Regions from separate parts of the Homo sapiens genome. Here region 2 is linked to region 1. Evidence: promoter capture Hi-C in 16 types of primary human blood cells and fetal thymus (Javierre and others, 2016). All regions are on one chromosome and are shown on one strand. The core of a region is centred on a gene start or on the middle of the fragment in contact, and the rest is flanking DNA. Distances in the headings are between cores, read along the strand shown.

Region 1 (5,990 bases), core at 1,428-3,927:
GCCTTCCTGCCCGTGCACAGACGTCACCCTGTTGTATCCTAAATCCACCTGTTGTCATAGTTGTTTCTCTGGGAACCCCAGCCATAGTAAGAAATATGAAGTACTGGCCGGGCGCGGTGGCTTATGCCTGTAATCCCAGAATGTTGGGAGGCCGAGGCAGGTGGATCACAAGGTCAGGAGTTTGAGACCAGCCTGGCCAACTTGGTGAAACGCTGTCTCTACTAAAAATACAAAAATTAGCCGGGCACGGTGGCATGCACCTATAAACCCAGCTACTTGGGAGGCTGAGGCAGGAGAATTGCTGGAACCAGGGAGGTGGAGGTTACAGTGAACTGAGATTGTGCCACTACACTCCAGCCTGGGTGACAGAGTGAGACTCCGTCTAACAAAAAAAAAAAAAAAAAGAGAAAAGAAGTATTTGTGAAAGAAAATGTTTGCTGGCTTGGGTAGAAAGTTGTGTCAGGGAGGAATGAGAAATGGGCCATTTGTTTAAGGCCACCCCCGACTAGCTCTTCCTTTTCTTTTTTTTTTTTTTTTTTTTTTTTGAGACGGAGTTTCATTCTTGTTGCCCAGGCTGGAGTGCAACGGTCTGATCTCGGCTCACAGCAACCACTGCCTCCTGGGTTCAAATGATTCTCCTGCCTCAGCCTCCCGAGTTACAGGCATGCAACACCACGCCCAGATAATTTTTTCTTTTTTTGTATTTTTAGTAGAGATGGGGTTTCTCCATGTTGGTCAGGCTGGTCTCAAGCTCCTGACTTCAGGTGATCCACCTGCCTCAGCCTCCCAAAGTGTTGGGATTACAGGTGTGAGCCACGCGCCCGGCCAGCTCTTCCTTTTCATGTAAGCATGCTCTTAACTTTTCTGCTGGAGTTGGAGAAATTTGTTTTGATGCAGCCATCTGCCAGTTGCATAATCTTGGGTATGTTTCAACATCTCCAAGCTTCAGTTCCCCATCAGTCAAATGGGCATCATAATTCCCACTTGGCACAGTGTTGGGAAGATTTATTGAGCCAATGTATGTGAAAGGGCCTATGTTTCATTTTACTTTTTTGCAAGGCCTTGTCACAATGGAGTTCCTAAGGCAATGTGTAATCCAACCCAAGATAATAGATACCAAAATGTTCTATTCTTTCCTGGGATGTGACTGCCAATGTTAGCCTCCCATACTCTCAGCCTGTGTGCTTTACTGAAACTGTCTCTGAAAGCTCATCACCTTCAGGTAATTCATACAAGATTTTTTTACATTTGTATAGTACTTTATAGCTGTCACAGAGACCTTAGCAACAATCATCTAATTTGAACCCCCTAGCAAACCTTCTGGGGCAAGGCACATTTTATCACCATGTTACATATAACATAAACGAGGCTCAGAGAGAATGATATAAAGAAACTGAGGGCCGGGCACAGTGGCTCACACCTGTAATCCCAGCATTTTGGGAGGCCAAGGTGGGAGGATCACTTGAGGTCAGGAGTTCAAGACCATCCTGGCCAACATGGTGAAACCCCGTCTCTACCAAAAATATGAAAGTTAGTCAGGTGTGGTGGCACACGCATGTAATCCCAGCTACTCATGAGGCTGAGGCATGAGAATTCCTTGAGCCCAGGAGGCGGAGACTGCAGTGAGCTGAGATCGCACCACTGCACTCCAGCCTGGGCGAGAGTGAGACCTTGTCTCAAAAAAAAAAAAAGATCCAGGTGCCATGTCTCATGTCTGTAATCCCAGCACTTTGGGAGGCTGAGATGGGTGGATCACCTGAGGTCAGAAGTTCGAGAGCAGCCTGGCCAACATGGTGAAACCCCGTCTCTAGTAAAAATACAAAAATTAGCCGGGCATGGTGGCAGGTGCCTGTAATCCCAGCTACTCAGGAGGCTGAGGCAGAAAAATCGCTTCAACCTAGGAGGTGGAGGTTGCAGTGAGCCGAGATCGTGCCATTGCACTCTGGCCTGGGCAACGGAGTAAGACTCTTGTCTACAAAAAAAAAAAAAGAAAAAAAAAGAAACTGAAGCTCAAAGAAGACAAATAATAAACAGCAGAGACCAGGAGTAGATTACTTCTAGACTACTTCAAGACTAAAGAGATGAGAGGTACCTTCCCTGACCTCAATCTGCCTAGGTTTAGAATTCTTGAGTCTGTTTCCCCAATCATGTTTTGCATCCTAGTAAAATGCATGCCACTTCTAAAATAATTTTTCTGTTGAAATAATAACATCAGCAGGCCGGGCGCGGTGGGTCACACCTGTAATCTCAGCACTTTGGGAGGCCGAGGTAGGTGGATCACCTGAGGCCAGGAGTTCGAGGCCAGTCTGGACAACATGGCGAAACCCTGTCTCTACTAAAAACACACAAATTAGCTGGGTATGGTGGTGGGTGCCTGTAGTTCCAGCTACTTGGGAGGCTGAGGCAGGATAATCATTTCAGCCTGGGAGGCAGAGGTTGCAGTGAGCTGAGATGGCACCACGGCACTCCAGCCTGGGTGACAGAGTGAGACTCCGTCTCAAAACAGCAACAACAAAAAGAAATAATAACATCAGCAAAATACTTCATCGTTTGTAAAACACCTTAAAATTGATGGATTCATTTGATTCTTACAGTAGCCTCCTGGGTAAGTAGAGCAAACATGAGTTATTCTGTTTTTCAGATGAGGAAATAGATGTGAGAATTGAGACCTGCCCAATGTCAAACAACCAAGGAGCAGAGCTGGAACGGGAAACTGACTTTCTGGGCAGCAACTTCAATGCCTTCTTATAGGTTCATTATTGTTGTTATACTTTTATTATGCTTCTATTGTGCTGTGTAATTTTTTTTTTTTTTGAGATGGAGTCTCGCTGTCGCCCAGGCTGGAGTGCAGTGCCACGATCTCGGCTCACTGCAGGCTCTGTCCCCCGGGGTTTACGCCATTCTCCTGCCTCAGCCTCCCGAGTAGCTGGGACTACAGGTGCCCGCCACCTCTCCCGGCTAATTTTTTGTATTTTTAGTAGAGACAGGGTTTCACCGTGTTAGCCAGGATGGTCTCGATCTCCTGACCTCGTGATCCGCCCACCTCGGGTAATTTTTTTTAAAAATTCAAATTAGTTAACCTCTTGTAGACATTCATTAAAATACATTTGTTGAGCACCTGTGTAAACTGCTCACCATCTAGTTGGGAGAAAGGTAAATAAACAGTTACAAAAACAAAACATACTTTGCAATTTGGAGACTTAATAAATGTTTTTGATGACAGTGTGATGACAGCTTGTACTCCAAAATTAATAATCACAATGAAGGCTGGGCGTGGTGGATCAAGCCTATAATCCCAGCACTTTGGGAGGCTTAGGTAAGCAGATCATGAGGTTAGGAGTTCGAGAACAGCCTGGCCAACATGGTGAAACCCAATCTCTACTAAAAATACAAAAAAATTAGCCAGGTGTGATGGCGCATGCCTGTAATCCCAGCTACTTAGGAGGCTGAGGCAGGAAAATCGCTTGAACCCAGGAGGCGGAGGGTGCAGTGAGCAGAGATCATGCCACTGCACTCCAGCCTGGGCAACAGAGCGAGACTCCATCTCAAACAAACGAACAAAAAACCCGCAATGGACTTTTGTGAAATAAGAGAGAAAGCAGCCACACGTTTATATACCCATGTGCATAAGCTCCCACCACACACCAGTGAAATCATCTGAATTTTACATTTCAATAAGTAACTGGCACCTTCTTGGCATATTAATCTGTAGGAAATTATAGGCTGCAGTGTTGTGGTATATTATCAGAGAATGTCAAGTAGATTACAGTATTATGTTACTTTGACATCACTGCCCGGCATTGCTTTGGTCTTTTCCTTACTAACAGATACATTTACTAGAACTCATTTCAATGTCATGTAAAAAAAGATAATTTATAATAATTTCCATTGTAAACAGAATATTTCTTGCTTGATCATAAAGACTTCACTTACCTTCTGTCCTCTTGCTGTTTGGGGTCATGATTGGTGTCTGCTCACCCTTCTCGGTTCTCCAGAGCAACATGTGACCTGAAGCCAACTTGGAAAGAGAAGAAACAGGTCAAAGAAGAGAGCAAAGATTAAACAGAACAGTGTGTTATAGCACTCGATCTCGAATTAAAAAAAACAAAAGGTAAAACTCCCCTGTGTAGTGAAGAATTGATTTTACCCAAAGAGAGGTCTGGCTTTGGCCCTCGGCTACTGGGAGATGATCTCTAGGCCTCTGGAATGTCCTGCCCAATAGGAATGTCATTGTTTGCCTGAGGAGTTTGGCCACCAGATGCTCAAATGATGTGATTTATAATGGGGGCTCCGAAACACGCCATATCAGTTCCAGCCCCCATAGGGACTGGAGAGCAAAGGTCAGTCATGCAGGCAGCATGTGGTCAAGCTCCAGCAAGGGCTCTGGACACCAAAGACTCGGGCAAGCTTTCCTGGTGGCAGCACTCGCAAGCACTGCCACACCTCGTAGCAGGGAGGGGCAGTGATGTCTGGAACTCCACAGGAGAAGGTGCCCAAAGCTTCCCGTGTAGCTCTTCCCAGACTTTGCCCTCTGTATCTCTTCTCTTGGCTGGTTCTGATTTGTACCCTTTTGCTGCAATAAAAGTTTAACTTATCATAAGTATAGTGCTTTCCTGAGTTCTGTGAGTCATTGTAGCAAATTATCAAACCTGCAGGGGTAGTGGAACCAACCCCTGAACTGGCTACTGGTGTCTGAAGTGAGAGTGGCCTGAAGTGGAGGACTGTTCCTTACCCTGTGAAGTCTGGCCTGAATCCAGGCAGTTGGGGTCAGACATCACTGCATTTCCCAAAGCCTGCTTTTAGATTTTGATTTTGACACTTTTTGACACTTTCTACCTTGGTTACTTCTCTCGATTTCATTTTTTTTTTTTTTTTTTTTTTAAGTACAGATTCTTGCTCTGTCACCCAGGCTGGAGTGCAATGGCACGATCTCAGCTCACTGCAACCTCCGCCTCCCAGGTTCACCTGATTCTCCTGCCTGAGCCTCCCGAGTAGCTGGGGTTATAGGTGCCCGCCACCACGCCCGGCTAATTTTTTTTGTATTTTTAGTAGAGATGGAGTTTCACCATGTTGGCCAGGCTGGTCTCAAACTCCTGACCTCAAGTGATCCACCCGCCTCGGCCTTCCAAAGTGCTGGGATTACAGGCGTGAGCCACCATGCCTGGCCGGCTTCAATTTTTCTAATCCTTAATTTGGGGGTCATACTTGTCCTATTTTCTTCACAGGGTTAATTATGAAGATCAAAAATTAAATAGTGTGTGTGTGAGAGAGCTATTGATGGCAAACAAGAACATGCTATCTAAAACTGTAAAGGACCATCAAAAGGTATTACTTTTATTACAATGGAACTAAATGGTGGGGATAATGTGGTGGAGATGTACATGTGTTAGGTAAGGCTTTCTTCAATCATTCATTACACAAATAAAGATTGAGTTTAGGTGTGGGGAGATAAGTCAGGGCCCCACCCTGTGCGGGCTTCTATTCTACCCAGGGAGAGAGAAAATAAAGAGGCAACTGAGGAGAATAATTAGACTGTGGTCATTGTTGTGATGGAAGCAGAATGATAAGGTAACAATTCTGTTGGAAGGGGTGCCTCTCAAGACAGAGCAGCCAGAGAAGGCTCATAAGAACTGATGTTTGGATAAAGAAGTTAAAAAAGAGAACAAGGGTATTTTAGGCAGAAGGAATAGCAAGGGCAAAGGTCCTGAGGTGGGAAAGAGCTTGGCGTGTGTACAGAACAGAAAAGAGATCTGTGTGTCTGGCCTGGGGATAAGGTTGGAGATATGCATGAGTCAGAAGAAGAAGGACCTTTTTTTTTCCCTTTTTCTTTTTTGAGACAAGCTCTCACTCTGTCGCCCAGACTGGAGTGCAGTGGGACAATCTTGATTCACTGCATCCTTGACCTCCCAGGCTCAAGTGGTCCTCCCACCTCAGCCTCCCAAGTAGCTGGGACTATAGGTATGCATCACCACGCCTGGCTATTTATTTGT
Region 2 (5,990 bases), core at 1,960-4,459, 260 kb after region 1:
TTGAGGTAAGGGGAGGCAGCTGCTTCAGCCTGGAGGCTGTTGGCTCGGAAATTCTAGCTGCCCCAGTTTGATATGCTTATTAGATGTTCGTGTGGTGATATTGAATAGACAGAGATTTTGAGTCTGGGCTTGATGGGAAGGTCTGGACTGCAGATATAAATGGGAATCATCAGCATATAGGCAGTATTAAAGTCGGGACTGCCTGTGGTGAGCAAGAAGAGAGTAGAAGGCTTCCCGCCCCTGGGACTGAGCCCATAGGAACTCTAAAATTAAATGGCCCCAGCAAAGGGGACTACAAAGGAGTGGTTGGTGGGACAGGGCACTGGCACCTGGGGGAAAATGATGAGGTCTTCCCTCAGAACTTGAAAATATATACAGTCATTTGTGTATTCTCAAGGGATTGGTTCCAGGACCCTCCACAGATAATCAAAATTCACAAATGCTCAAATCTCTTATATAAAATGGCACATTTGCATATAACCTAGGCACATCCTCCAGTGTGTTTTAAATCATCTCTAGATTACTTGTGACACCTAATGCAGTGTAAATACTATGCAAGTAGTTGTTATACTGTATTGTTTAGGAAATAAATGTCAAGAGGAGAATGTCTATACATGTTCAGTACAAATGCAACCATCATAGGCCTAACTACATTTTCCATCCACAGTTGGTTGAATCCATGGATGCCAAACCCATGGATATGGAGGACTGATGGTATAAGTTTTCACTCTAAAAGTATGCAAGATTTCTATTTTAGCAAATAAGGTATCAGTGGAGAGTAGGCAAAGTCACCTTAAAGGGAAGAAATGGCTCCCTGCTGGCCAAATGCTCTCCTGCTGGACTTGGCTATAACCTAATTGAAAATGTTAACATATTTGGCTGGGTGCGGTGGCTCACGCCTGTAATCCCAGCACTTTGGGAGGCAGAGGTGAGTGGATCACTTGAGGTCCGGAGTTCGAGAGCAGCCTGGCCAACACGGTGAAACCCTGTCTCCATTAACAATACAAAAGTTAGCCAGGCGCAGTGGCTCACGCCTGTAATCCCAGCACTTTGGGAGGCTGAGGCGGGCGGATCACAAGGTCAGGAGATCGAGACCATCCTGGCTAACACAGTGAAACCCCGTCTCTCCTAAAAATACAAAAAATTAGCCGGGTGTGGTGGCGGGCACCTGTAGTCCCAGCTACTCGGGAGGCTGAGGCAGGAGAATGGCATGAACCCGGGAGGCGGAGCTTGCAGTGAGCCGAGATTGTGCCACTGCACTCCAGCCTGGGCGACGGAGCAAGACTCTGTCTCAAAAAAAAAAAAAAAAGTTAACTGGGTGTGGTGGCTCGTGCCTGTAGTCCCAGCTACTGGGAAGGCTGAGGCAGGAGAATCACTTGAACACCGGAGGTGGAGGTTACAGTGAGCTGAGATTGCGCCACTGCACTCCAGCCTGGGCGACAGAGTGAGACTCTGTCTCAAAAAAAAAAAAAAAAAGAAAAAGAATGTGTGTTAACCTGAAGACGGGTCAGCAATGAAAGTCTAGTAAAGGGAGAGTCCCTGAGGCCAGTCCAAGCACCATCCTGGAAAGCCGTCACATTCAGAGTAGTCCAGGAGTGCTGGCAAGGCTGCCAATAGCAAAGAGGTGGGGGTAGAAGATTGTTGCCAAGAAGAGTTTTCTGGACCCATTGGCATGGCTGCTTATTGCAGATGGCCAGATGCCATTAAAGATACAAATCCTCCAGTAATGTCATTGTGCATTTATACATTGACATTATGATTCTGATTTGGCTTCAGGGAGAGAATGTACTAGACATGTAGATATGAGTTTTCAGTCTGAGTGACAGTTAAATATTTATGATAAATTAATATTTATGTATTATGGCTTTATATTTCAGAAGATTGTGAACTTTGTTGGCATGAATGATTATTTCCAAGATCCAGCTTTGGAGTCTGCAAAGCCCAGGCCCGTGTCCCTGTCAGAGGTAAATTCAACCTGGCAAATGTTACCTGTGTGGTCTCTTCGGACATAGCCTGTCAGCCTTCTCCATGTATATATATCAGCATTCTGAAGCCTCCACATTTAGTAAGGCAGAATCACACGCTATTAGATCTGAGAGGGACCTGATGCAGTATCTAGTCCAAGCCCCCCTTTTCCAGATGAGAAACCTGAAGTTCACAGATGTGGAGAACTTGACCAAGAGTTGACAGCTTGTTAGCAGTGAGAACCCAGGTCCAAGCCCAGGTCAGTGCTGTCTGGAAGGTCCTGACCTTATCTGGCATAGACACATTCAGGATGTATTTCCCCAAATCACCATATTCCCTCTCACTCCTTCGGCAGGGATGGTCATCAAGTGTCACCAAGTGGCATGTCTTGGATCTCTGAGTCCAGGTTATTGATGCAAGAGCAAAGGAAAGATGAAGGGAAAAGCTGAAACAATTTACTTCTTCCTGCCCGGGAAGTACAAGTGTGTGGAGGGGAGGGGAGGGAGGTAGAGGAGAGTAAGAGAAAATGGAGAAGGGTATTGAGAGGATCCTTTTTGAGTCATTGGAGCAAATTAATGGAAGGGGAACTGTCCGGTTGGTCAGGTCTGTAAAAATCCCTCAACTTCCCCAGTACTTCTGCTACCACCAACTGAATGGACAGGATGAGGAGGTGTCCACTGTAAATAAGTAACCTGGACTGTTTTGTGAGGAAAGAGATGGAAGGAATCCAGGGGTCTCTGACTCTGGCAGTTCAGGATAGAAACCACACCTTGTTATCTCTGCTTTCTCTAAAATGTCCAGGTAAACTTGGAATAGGAGCACTCTGGATTTGGGAGACTGTTGTGAAAAAGGAGTTTGAGAGCAGTGGAGAAGGCAAGGGAGGTGTTTTGAAGGCAGCAAAAGCCCCTGAAATTATTGGGTCCTGCCATACTGAGACTGGGGTGCTAAGGAAGGGGCTGCCACATTCCCCATCTCCCTGTCTTCCCACTTGTCTTCCTAACATCACTGTTTTTTTCTTTAGTTCCTTCTATCTTTTACTAGGAAGGGCCTGGGAAGGGCTGGGTGCCATTTCCAGCTGTTCTTGTGACAACCTCCGGCCCTTTCATCATTTCTCCCCGTGCCCTGACTCCCTCCCCATCCTCTTTTCTCCTCTCCCCACCAATGGTCTCTCCCGATGCTCAGTGGCGCGGGGTAGGGGGGGGCGGAGGCGGGGCTGGAGTGGTGGAAGGGGGGTGGCAGGTCTGCATTGCCGCTTCCCTGGTGCCGGGAGCAGTCGCCGCTGCCGCCTCCGCCCGCGGCCGGGACCCCCGTCCTCGCCCGGGACTCCTTACCCGGGGAACCTAGACCAGGTGAGACCCCTTTCTCAGTCGCTCACCTCCTCCCCGCCCCTGGCAGAAGCATCTTTGCCTTGCCTTGCAGCCATTTTATCCTCCGATGCTTTGCTTATGGGGAGGGTGACGATCCCCTCTCTAGGGGTGAGGGGGGTTGGTGGGTTGGTGGTGGTTTGGGGATGGACATTTATTTCAGTTGTGCTCTTCAGGACACACACACACACACGCATATGTATAATATTGGTGAATGGGGAGGAGGGGTGTTTTTCTCTACCTTAACCAAGTCCCCACTATCCCCTTCGGAGATTAACGTGGTGGTGGGGTTGTGAGGTGGGATGAGGTTCCCTCAAACTCCTATCCCCTCCTCACCTTGACGTCCCCCCACCCCCAGGATGAATGATAAATGACCTTGGCTGGGGCTGGAGAATGGATGCTGCCTCAGTGTGCACGCCTGGACTTGGGTGGGTGGGGGGCAGGGGAAGAAGGGCAGGTGAAGGATGGAGGGAAGGGGAGTGAAGAATGGAAATACTGGGGAGACAGAGATGTAGAGCCGCCAGGTGTTGGGGGCATGGATGGCGGGGGCTGGCGGCAGTTGCTCCGGGGTGGGGGGAAGGGATGTTGAGTGAAGGTGGACACTTGTCTAGCAGCAGGACCAAGGGTGGAGGAGGTGCTCAGAGCAGGGATTTAGTCAGTTCTGGGGGCTTTTCCCTTATTCCGGAGCTGAGGCAAGATGGGGTGTGGGGGGGTCGCTGCAAATGCTGATAGGGGCGGTCTCTATGTCTGTGCATGCGGAGGTCTCTCCCTGCGTCCCCCTCTCTGCCTCTCCGTATTCCTCAGTGTGCATTCTCAGCTGACACCCTCATTTTTATCCCTCAGAACTGTGGGTGCTCCTATCTTCCTAACCTTGGTAGGATGTGGGGAGGGGAGGCGCAGTCTTGATGGTCCTGGGTGGGGGCTGAAGTTCGATGACCGGGCTGTCATGGGGAAGGGGTGCTCCCGCACCTCCCACATTCTACCCCCGCCCCCGCGGACGTTTTGATAAGTGATTGCTTTTTAATGACCTTGTCACCTGAGCTAGGAAGGCCTGGGGATCTGGGTGGACCCCAAAGTCAGGGGCTTTGACTGGGAGGGTGGGGGGTTCTGGACCCAGGGCTGGATGAGCTGTTCTGAAAGAAAGCATTTGCTCTGGAGTCCCCTGCCTGTCTCCACCCTCTGCAGAAAATCTCCTGGGCACATTTTTTCCTGTCAGGTGAAGTCAGCCAGCCTAGGACCTTGTAACCCTGAACCTTGTCTCCTTTAACCTCCACCTCTCCAAGTCTTGTCTCACTCCCCCAGGCTTAGCCACCCTGTGCTGTTTTGGGGGCTAAAAATAGCACCACTTCCTCACCAGCTCAAAGAATTTGTCTTCTTTCTTTCTCTCCTGACCTCCTGGGCTTGCTGGCCCTGAGGAAGCTGGCTGTTGAGACCTCATATCCTGCTGTGGTTGTGGAAGGCTTCCCTGCCCTACGTGCCCCTCTCAGGGGGAAATAGGGTCAACAAACATAGAGTATGGCTCCTGGTGGGTCCTGCCTCCTTCAGGGCTGGAGGGGAGATCCTGGTTAGGAAAGAGAGGAAAGCTAGCAAATTGCCATGCGCTGAGGGGATTCCGCAGTTCCAGCTCTTTCATGGGGGATGGTTGGGCCCTGAACCATGAAGAAAAGGTGACATAGGGGTCACTGCTTCTGGTCACCGTGGTCCACTGCTTACATCTGTCCTGAGGGGATAAGGCGCTGCTTGCCAGTGCTTCTCTCTGAACCACATAGCATTGCTTACCGTCTTCTACCAGGGCGTGTGTGTGTGTGTGCGTGTGTGTGTGTGTGTGTGTGTTTTAATGAAGGCCCTGGATGGGTGGGAGCACCGGAGGCAGGATATTTTTAGGGGGATGATTTCTGATCAGAATCTAGGCCTGCTTCCTCTGCTCCTATGAAGGAAGGGGGCTATCCCATGCCTTCCTCTGGAGAATGTCTTTTTTGGGGGGACACCCAAACCCCCTTTATTCTACATCCGCCTCCTACGCAATGCGGTGTTTGTGGACTCCTTCTTCCTTGACTCCTGGAGGAGGAGCAGAAAGGATTAAGGGGGATTAGGAAGGGAGGCCCTGGAGGGATGGGATGCAACTGTAGGCCTTAGAACCTCATGTTGGAAATGTATGCATTTGACAGTCATTTCCATTCTCACCCCCATCTGTGGAAAGGGGGCCTATCTATGACATTCTGAAGCAAGGTGGCAGTGGACAGTCATCACCTCTTTCTTAGCTTTCCATCTTTCCTCCACTTTACTTGGGTTCCAGGTCCCCCTTTTCTGGATCTTCCCTTGTTCTTCTGGAGGTAGTTAATGTGGGCCCAGCTACTGGAATTAGTTGAAACATAGATAGGGGTGTCTTGGGACTCTGTTTGCAAGGATGCTGGGCAACAGCATCTAAGTATGACCCCCCTGTTGTCCCTTGCTGCTTCCTGTTTCTTTCCCACTTTCAACATCATAGGAAGGAAGAAAACTAACATAGAGTATCTACTGTGAGATTACATTCTCACATCAACTCCAAGAAACAGTCTCCCAATTTAATTATCCCCAGTTAAAATAGATGGACACTGAGGCTTAGGGAGGTTAACTACCCTGACTGAGATCAGTTAGTAAGTGGCAGAGTTGGGATTTCAA

What was found. Contacts are between HindIII fragments. The CHiCAGO score rates a contact against its expected background, and 5 or more counts as called.
Region 2: the fragment with the promoter of SV2A here is called in contact with a fragment that was not itself captured in region 1 in 4 of 17 cell types (monocytes, activated CD4 T cells, M0 macrophages and 1 more); the score reaches 8.0 in monocytes.

Annotation. Positions count from the first base shown.
Region 1 is chr1:150,171,758-150,177,747 of GRCh38, reverse strand. LINC02988 (long intergenic non-protein coding RNA 2988) reads right to left here. Exons shown (of 4, transcript NR_135098.1): 3 at 3,934-4,018. Among named protein-coding and RNA genes, the nearest start is that of LINC02988, 14 kb to the right of the region's middle. RefSeq lists a silencer at 4,105-4,399. The HindIII fragment of the contact is 3,464 bases long and covers 946-4,409 here.
Region 2 is chr1:149,915,063-149,921,052 of GRCh38, reverse strand. It overlaps SV2A (synaptic vesicle glycoprotein 2A), which reads left to right and starts at 3,209. Exons shown (of 13, transcript NM_014849.5): 1 at 3,209-3,314. RefSeq lists a silencer at 3,296-3,365. The HindIII fragment of the contact is 16,072 bases long and covers 1-5,990 here.